Regions from separate parts of the Homo sapiens genome. Here region 1 is linked to region 2. Evidence: promoter capture Hi-C in human tissues and cell types (Jung and others, 2019). All regions are on one chromosome and are shown on one strand. Each heading gives the region's core, a stretch centred on a gene start or on the middle of the fragment in contact. The rest is flanking DNA. Distances are from core to core; before and after follow the strand shown.

Region 1 (4,821 bases), core at 1,995-4,494, 660 kb before region 2:
GGAGGCAGAGGTTGCAGTGAGCTGAGGCCACGCCACTGCACTCCAGCCTGGCGGCAGAGCAAGACTCTGTCTTGGGGGAAAACAAAACAAAACAAAAACTGTTTAGGGTCTTCAGTGACTTTTAAGAGTGTGAAGGGGTCTTGAGACAAAAAACGTGAGACACACTTGTCTACAGAATAGGCTTTTTTTTTTTTTTTTGAGACAGAGTCTCACTCTGTCGCCCAGGCTGGAGTGCAGTGACACGATCTCGGCCCACTGCAATCTCCACCTCCCGGGTTCAAGCGATTCTCCTGCCTCATCCTCCCAAATAGCTGGGATTACAGACACCCGCCACCACGCCCGGCTAATTTTTTGTATTTTTAGTAGAGACAGGGTTTCGGCCTGTTGGCCAGGCGGGTCTCTATCTCCTGACCTGGTGATCCGCCCACCTTGGCCTCCCAAAGTGCTGGGATTACAGGCGTGAGCCATCGTTCCCGGCCTAGGCTTTAGGCAAGCTTTGGTATTTTGTATTCATGTTGATCATTTGATACAGAGTACTTATTTTTACTTAAACAGATGTAGTATTTTTATTTCCTCTTTGACCAAATAGCTGTTTCATATATATTCTAAAATACCCACAATTATTAATTTGTAATTTTGTTGTGCTATTAAAGTATATGATAATATGATTTTCTACTTTTTTGGTTTCTTTCTTCTTTTTTTTTTTGAGACAGAGTTTCGCTCTTGTTGCCCAGGCTGGAGTACAATGGTGCGATCTTGGCTTACTGCAACCTCCGCCTCCTGGGTTCAAGCGATTCTCCTGCCTCAGCCTCCCAAGTAGCTGGGATTACAGGCATGCGCCACCACACCCGGCTAATTTTTGTAATTTTAGTAGAGATGGGTTTCACCATGTTAGCCAGGATGGTCTCGATTTCCTGAACTTGCAATCTGCCCAACTCGGCCTCCCAAAGTGCTGGGATTACAGGCATGAGCCACCGCGCCCGGCCTTTTTTTCTTTTCTTTTCTTTTTTTTTTTGAGAAGGAGACTCGCTCTGTAGCCCAGGCTGGAGTGCAGTGGCACGATCTCAGCTCACTGCAACCTCCGCCTCCCAGGTCCCGGTTCAAGCAATTCTCCTGCCTCAGCCTCCTGAGTAGCTGGATTTACAGGCACGCACCACCACGTCTTTTAGTAGAGACGGGGTTTCACCATGTTGGCCAGGCTGGTCTTGAACTCCTGACCTCATGATTCTCCCGCCTCAACTTCTTCTTGATAAGAATTCTGGAAAATCAAATCTTCAAGGACTAACCCACTCCCTTTAAATCCAAGGGATTATTTTTATTTTTATTTTTAAAGAAACAGGGTCTCACTCTGTTGCCCAGGCTGGAATGCAGTGGTGCAATCTCAGCTCACTGCAGCCTCAACTTCTCAGGCTCAAGTGATCTCACACCTCAGCCTCCTGAGTAGCTGGAACAACAGGCGCGTGCCACCACACCTGGTTTTTTATTTCTTGCAGAGACAGAGTCCTGCCATGTTGCCCAGTCTAATCTCAAACTCACGGCCTCAGTTGATCCTTCCACCTGGGCCTTGGTCTGTTAGGATTACAGGTGTAAGCCACCACACCCATCCAACTCCAGGGGATTCTAGGAAGCCAAGGAACCTTCCTGCCCTGCCTGCTGAAATAAACTCAAACTGGCCAAACAGACAAGTCTGACATCTTTTCTTTATGCTTTTTTTTTTTTTTTTTCCTGTCAAGGAGTCTCACTCTGTTGCCCAGGCTAGAGTGTAGTGGGGCAATCTCGGCTCATTGCAATCTCCAACTCCCGGGTTCCAGCGATTCTCCTGCTCAGCCTCCCAAGTAGCTGGCATTACAGGCACCCACCACCACGCCCAGATAATTTTTGCATTTTTAGTGGGGACAGGGTTTCACCATGTCGGCCAGGCTGGTCTTCAACTCCTGACCTCAAGTGATCCGCCCGCCTCGGCCTCCCAAAGTGCTGGGATTACAGGCATGAGCCACTGCGCCCAGCCTGCTCTTGCTTGATTTTTTAAATTGTCAGATCACTAATACAGAGACACCGAATCAAAAGGAGAGTAGGACAGTTGTTCATAATCCCACAAATCAAATGCTTACCTCCTCATGTACCATTGCTTCTCTCACCTATAGGCACACATTTGAAATAATTTGTTAGTTATCCAAATAAGAAGTGAACCACCAGGGAATTAAATGCTATGGGCTTAAAAGGGAAAGTACTCATCTCCTGCCCCAGTCACTCATCCTCTCAGCCTCCCGACATCACTTTTTTTTTGAGATAGGGTCTCACACTGTCACATAGGCTGGAGTGCAGTGATATAATAACAGCTAACTGCAGCCTCAACCTCCTGGGGTCAAAGAATCCTCCCAACTCAGCTTCCTGAGTAGCTGGGACTTCAGGTATGTGCTACTATGCCCGGCTAATTTTTGTATTTTTTGTAGAGACCAGGTCTCGCCATGTTGCCCAGGCTGGTCTCCAACTCTTAGGCTCAAGTGATCCACCTGCCTCAGCCTCCCAAAGCACTGGGATTACAGGTGTGCACCACCATATCCACTGCACCCACCTCCAGCCACTTTTAACCATATCTGTTCCAATTCTTCTTGAGGACACCTCCGTAATTCTAATCTTTGATCATCTTTAGTCTTTTTTTTTTTTTTTTTCCTGGAGACGGAGTCTGACTCTGTTGCCCAGGCTGGAGCACAGTGATGCAATCTCAGCTCACTGCAACCTCCACTTCCTGGGTTCAAACGATTCTCCTGCCTCAGCCTCCTGAGTAGCTGGGATTACAGGTGCCCACCACCACGCTGGGCTAATCTTTGTATTTTTAGTAGAGACAGAGTTTCACCATGTTGGCCAGGCTGGTCTCAAACTCCTGACCTCAGGTGATCCACCCACCTCAGCCTCCCAAAGTGCTGGGATTACAGGCATAAGCCACCGCATCCAGCCAATCATCTTTAGTTTTCACTAACTTCCTGCTCTGACAGGTGAGGATCTGACTCACATCCGCTGCCAATTCCTCTCATATTACATTTCAAGCTTTAATTTTCATCTTCTAAATAAACTTACATATCATGTTTAAAAGCCTACTTCCTAAAAGGATGGTAAGGGAAACCTCTACTCTCCACTACTACTTTCCCCATCTACTCTCCCACATCTGCAGGTGGGGCTGACATTGTCAGTGACAGGAATAATGACAACAGTGCCCTACCCTACGGCCACTATGAAGTTGTCAGGTCACAGCCATGTGTTACTTCCTAAAAATTAAAAGCCAATACAGGCCGGGTGCAATGGCTCATCCCTGTAATCCCAGCACTTTGGGATGCCAAGGTGGGCGGATCACAAGGTGAGGAGTTGGAGACCATCCTGACCAACATGGTGAAACCCTGTGTCTACTAAAAATACAAAAATTAGCTGGGCGTGGTGGCACGTGCCTGTAATCCCAGCTACTCAGGAGGCTGAGGCAGGAGAATTGCTTGAACCCGGGAGGCGGAGGTTACAGTGAGCCAAGATCGCGCCACTGCACTCCAGACTGGGCAACAGAGACTCCTTCTCAAAAAAAAAGAAAAAAAAAGCCAATACCTAGGGTTCACGTCACAGCTATGCAAATGCCATTCCCTGAAGGGTCAATCAACAATCTGACTGCATCTCCTCCTCCTTTATTCAAATTTCATGAGCTTTTTGCCCCCTCCAGCAAGAATTACTCACATCAGTGTCAAGTGAACACTACTTTCTAAAGTTACCTTCACATAGGAACTATAACCATCTAGCAGAATTTGTATAGTTTGAGCACAATTTACCTTGAAGCCTTCAATTAAAATTACCTTTTTTTTTAAGTTATGGGTGAATAAACATTCCTTTTCTTGCCCTATTCCTTTTCTAGATTAAAGCTATTCCTTTCTTAGATTCAAAACTATTTTCTCTAGAGAAGGTTCTGCCATGCCATTTGCTCTGTTTTGAGACAGAGTCTCATTCTGTCGCCCAGGCTGGAGTCCAGTGGCATGATCTAGACTCATTGCAACCTCTGCCTCCCAGGTTCAAGTGATACTCCTGCGTCAGCCTCCTGAGTAGCTGGGATTGCAGGCATTTATCACCACACTTGGCTAATTTTTGTATCTTTAGTAGAGACAGGGTTTCACCATCTTGGCCAGGCTGGTCTCAAACTCCTAACCTAGAGTGATCCACCTGCCTCGGTCTCCCAAAGTGCTGGGATTACAGGCGTGAGCCACCATGCCAGCCCTGCCATCTTTTTTTTTTTTTTTTTTTTTGAGACAGAGTCTCGCTTTGTCGCCCACGCTGGAGTGCAGTGGCACAATCTTAGCTCACTGCAACCTCCACCTCCTGGGTTCAAGCAATTCTCCTACCTCAGCCTCCCAAGTAGCTGGGATTACAGGTGTGAGCCACCATGCCCGACCCTGACATTTTTTTTGTTTGTTTTTTTTTGAGACAGAGTCTCGCTTTGTCGCCCAAGGCTGGAGTGCAGTGGCACAATCTTAGCTCACTGCAACCTCTACCTCTCGAGTTCAAGCGATTCTCCTGCCTCAGCCTCCTGAATAGCTGGGATTATAGGCGGCTGCCACCATGCCTGGCTAATTTTTGAATTTTTATTAGAGATGAGGTTTCACAATGTCGGCCAGGCTGGTCTCAAACTCTTGACTTCAGGTGATCTGCCTGCCTCAGCCTCCCAAAGAGCTGGGATTACAGGCGTGAGCCACCACGCCCAGCCTGCCATCTGTTTTTAGTCGTGGTGTTCTCAGTTTTCCACGATGCATGGGTCTTATTAATTCTGATAATAATGGCATGACCTGAAAA
Region 2 (4,532 bases), core at 1,066-3,565:
TTAAAAGTGGGGATAATAATGGCACCCACCTCATAGGGCTACTGTTTGTATCAGGCTTGTCTGTACATCTCAAGTGCCTTTGAAACAGCTACTACTATCCATGCAAATGAACTGATGAGTTTTTGAAAAATTAGGTTTGTTTTGCCTGCTTTAAAGCTTTTAAGAAAATTTGGTTAAGATTTTTCCATTGTAATAAAATACTTCAAGGCAACTTAATATTTTGACCAATCATTAAGTGCTAGTATAAATTTCCCTTACTTTGTACATACATTTTTTAGTTCCTTCTGCGTACTTGCAAGGTGTACACTAGCCCTTGCACTAAACCAGCCTACCTGATACATATTCCTCTGAAGGGGAGCTGCAGTGATCCTTCATTAGAGATGTTCATCAATTCTGCTTACCTGAGGGTTTGGGTAACTGAGGCACCAATGCACTGGTTGGGGATGGGACTGCTCCACAGGCAGCGCCCATGAAGGCATGCTGAGCCTGTAGGGTGGCAAACCTACTGCATCCCTCACCTTGGTCTCCAGTGCAGGCCAGGCTACTTATGCTCTACAGCCCTCTCCTCTTGCTGACACTATAAGATATAATAAAATTCCTCTTCAAAGGTTTAGCCTGTTAACTTCCTTGTTCTTTGTTCTCAAACCTTTCTTGTTCTCCATGCCTCCTTGCCCCTAGTTACTATAAACAACCTTCCTGTAAGCACTAACCAATAATTCACATCTGTTCCCTTACTCACTTTGCACCCATTGCCCCCGCCAAAACCACACGTCCTACACAACTCACATGTCCCACCACTGTAACTCACCTTCCCCTTCCCTCTTCCTTATTTGGAAAATACTCACAAATACCCAATTGGCTCAGCTTAGATTAAGCGGTCCGACCCCAGCCCATGGGGGAGTGACACAGAGGAAGGTAGGGACTATGGGTTAGAGATAAAAACCCCTTCCCTCCTTTGTTCAGTGTGCTCTTGGGATCGTGATTAACACAGGCAGCACACTTGCACAGAAGTAAATTGCCTTGCTGAGAAAACTTTTGCCTGAGTGCTGGTTTCACTTTGCAGCACCAAGCATTGACTTCCAACAACACCATCTAGAATGCTTTCACATGCCAGGACCCCTCCTTTCTGGAAGGAATCTTAAGTGTCCACCCCTTCATCCCTGGCCTTCCACCCTAAACCCACCTCTCACTTCAGAGACCACACAAAATAACTTCCTTGAAATTCCACCCTCTAAATCTGATCTACTACAGGCTTTGACCTTATGCCTCACCCATTGAAGTCTCTAGCACAACTCCCTCTCTAGAACCCCAGACCTGCATGTTCAGCTACCCGTGATGAACCTCCAGTGCAGAACACCTTAGATTCACCAAGTCCAAAACCCAATTCCTGATGCCCCTGAAACGTGCTCCCTGCTGTGACTTACCAATTTCCATTCTTTCACACGTTCAGGAAGGAAAACAGGCCAAAAAAACCCTGGATAGCCCTTTCCTCCCTACATTCACTCACGACCACATCTGATGCGGCAGGAAACCCCATTGGTTCCATCTTTAAAAATCTACCCAGAATCTCATGACTTCCCCACCCAACCCCTCCTGCCACTGCTCTGGCCCAGCCACCACCGCAACACTTCTGGAGTTTGTTGCAGGGACCTCCTCAAACGTCTCCTTGCCTCCATCCTCATCGTTTCTACCTCACTGTAGTCGGTTTCCTCCTCAGCAAACATTGGAATACTTTAAAAATCCTTTTTCGGATCCCTTCCCTCCACCATTCAAAACCCGCCATGGCTCCTATCGTCCTCGCAATGAAGGAGCAACTTCTCCCCTCGACATTGCAGGCCTGACTACGGTTCACACACGCTCCCGACTGCTACGGGCTCAGTCCAGCTCCAAACCTATGCTCAGGCTGCCCCTCTGCCAGTCACACTCGCCCCCACCCACCAGCGCCCCGCTGCCTTGGACACTGGGGCCTGCGCTGCAGGGACTCAGACAGGCGCTCCTCATTTGGAACTTCAGGATTTGGGGCGGGCGAAAGTCTGGGAAAGGCAGCACCCACCTGCGCCGGGCCCATCACCGCGGCCGCCGCCATCACAGTTCGTAGACCACCCGGAGCCGCGAGGGGGTCCCAGGTCGCGGGACCCTGGCACCGCGGTCGTCCGTCCCCGGGGGCGCAGGCGGGGTCTTCGCTGGCGAGCCACTCCGCAGAGCGAACAGCGACTTCTCCCGCACCCTCCCGCTTCCGTCACCTCGGAACCGCCCAGCAACCCCGAGCTTCTGCTCCGATGGTTCCACCTAAGAGCCGACAAGATGTCCACCGCGAGGAAGATACCGGAAGTCCCGCCCAGAGAGCTTCCGTCCGCAGGGAGACGCCCCTAAGAGTGCCGCCGCCGGGCGGCGCACAGGTTTCTGGGCAATGCAGTTCTCATGTGCACTTGGCCGTGGTGACGGCTAACTCCCCTGCACGCTGGGCAAAGGCCAAATGGTACTGCGAGGGGCGCTGAGAAATTATGCCCTGAGACTCTGAGGTCAGGGCGTGGCTTCGCTCCTTTTAAAGGACCCTCAACCAGGTCTTGTGTAGTGAGGTCTGCAGGGATCCCCGAAATATTGGGATATATTCTTACAGATGTTCCCTGAAGCCACACCACCAAATGGACACACAACATCCAATGTCACTCTGAGTCCACTCATAGTTCAGTCAAATTTCCTTCATTTAAAAAATATGTGTACTGTAGAGGGAAGCTTTGAGTCAGTTTTGTGAGCCTCAGTTGGGTCAGAGTTAACAGAGAATTGTCCCCAGGCAGGGCCATGGAGTGGAAGAATGGTCTCCAGACAGTGGCTATGGAGGGATGCTGGAGCTCCCTGAGGCAAGTGGACTAATATAGAGCTCTTCCTCTGGTTTCCTCAGAAAAAAAATACCTGAGAGAACCATGAGGAGGAAGACAGGCGAGAGAAGGTGGTCAAGGAAGGCACCTTTCCTGCCTGTATGGTCACTAATGTCCAACCAAAGGAGAAATATTCTTTTATCCAAATGAGAGTTCCTAGCCCAAAAGTTGAGATATATCTATTTCCTTTTGGTGATGTTTCTTATCTGAAAAGAAGAACCATTATAAATGCTTTTATATGCCAAGACAGGGGCTGAAAATGTGGTGTCTGAACCCAGAAATAAAGATTTGGAAAATTGGGATCAGATTTCTTGGCTGGGAGGTGATTCTCATTTCACCTGCAATTACACCGACAGTGTCTGAATTGAGAATTGAGATTTATTTATGGTTTTAAAAAAGAAAAGGGCGAGTGTATGGGGAAAGAAAGACAAAAACATTTGTGAATTGTTTAAATTACTCAAAAGTTGTTTTGTGTTTTTTTTTTTTGAGACGGAGTCTTGCTCAGTCGCCCAGGCTGGAGTGCAGTGGTGCGACCATAGCTCACTGCAGGCTCCGCCTCCCAGGTTCACACTATTCTCCTGCCTCAGCCTCCGGAGTAGCTGGGATTACAGGCGCCTGCCACCATGCCCGGCTAACTTTTTGTATTTTTAGTAGAGATGGGGTTTCACCGTGTTAGCCAGGATGGTCTCGATCTCCTGACCTCGTGATCTGCCCGCCTCAGCCTCCCAAAGTGCTGGGATTACAGGAGAGCCCCCGCGCCCGGCCAAATTACTCAAAGTTAATAATTCTGTAGTTATTCACAGATACATGACGAAATGGACCTGGAGAAACATATCTGTGATAAGTGAAAACGGTTAAGATGACAGCAAAATTTGAGCAGGAGACATTGAATTCTGAGAAGTGAGCAAATGAAGCTGAGCACACAGCTGTGTTAGAACTATGACTACAAGCAGCGTTTAGTCTCCAAAATGTAATTTTATTTATTTATTTAATTTTGGAGACAGGATCTCACTGTGTTGCACAGGCTGGAGTGTAGTGGCACGATCATAGCTTGCTGCAGCCTCAAACTCTTGGGCTCAAGGGATCCTCCCACCTCAGCCTCCCAAAAAGTTGGGATTACAGATGTGAGCCACCATGCCAGGCCTCTTTTCATTCTTGAAAACACTCAATAATACCTGGAAGGAGAAGTAAAGAAAACATTTAGAAAGTGCTATCAGAATATTAAGGTGAACAGGGATGCTGTAGTATTATGCTTATTCATAGTTCTAAGAAATATTCAAGGAACACCTACTGTATTTCAGACACTATCTTAACTGCATGGGACATTTACAAAACAAGAGACAGACCCCAATAGCTTACGCTGTACTCAAGAAAGAGGAGGAAATATGAAAAAAATGCTAAATTATATGGAATGTTAGAATGTGGCAGGCATAATGGAGAAAAGAGAAGGTGAAGGCATTGAGAAGTGCTGGAAAGATATGTAATATTACATAGCCAAGAGAGGCCAATTTGTGGATGGGTCTTTATTGGAAAAGGACATGGAGAGCTCAATGCCAGTGAAATAAAAGTTTAATGTTACTCAGAATTTCCCTAGAAATGGGAAGTACAGTATGCCATGCAGGGCCACAGGAGGAACAGGTTTCAGTCTAAAGG

What was found. The method cuts DNA at HindIII sites, captures the fragments that hold promoters and counts their contacts. A contact is called where the count stands out against the background at its distance.
Region 1: a fragment that was not itself captured here is called in contact with the fragment with the promoter of ZNF134 in region 2 in 1 of the 25 tissues and cell types used here (spleen).

Annotation. Positions count from the first base shown.
Region 1 is chr19:58,269,067-58,273,887 of GRCh38, reverse strand. The region is part of intron 1 of ZNF8-DT (ZNF8 divergent transcript); the gene reads left to right. It also overlaps a transcript of ZNF544 not described here. Among named protein-coding and RNA genes, the nearest start is that of ZNF8-DT, 7.3 kb to the left of the region's middle. The HindIII fragment of the contact is 7,344 bases long and covers 1-4,821 here.
Region 2 is chr19:57,612,025-57,616,556 of GRCh38, reverse strand. It overlaps ZNF134 (zinc finger protein 134), which reads right to left and starts at 2,315. Exons shown (of 3, transcript NM_003435.5): 1 at 2,054-2,315. It also overlaps a transcript of ZNF530 not described here. RefSeq lists a silencer at 2,061-2,110 and an enhancer at 2,241-2,420. The HindIII fragment of the contact is 8,655 bases long and covers 1-4,532 here.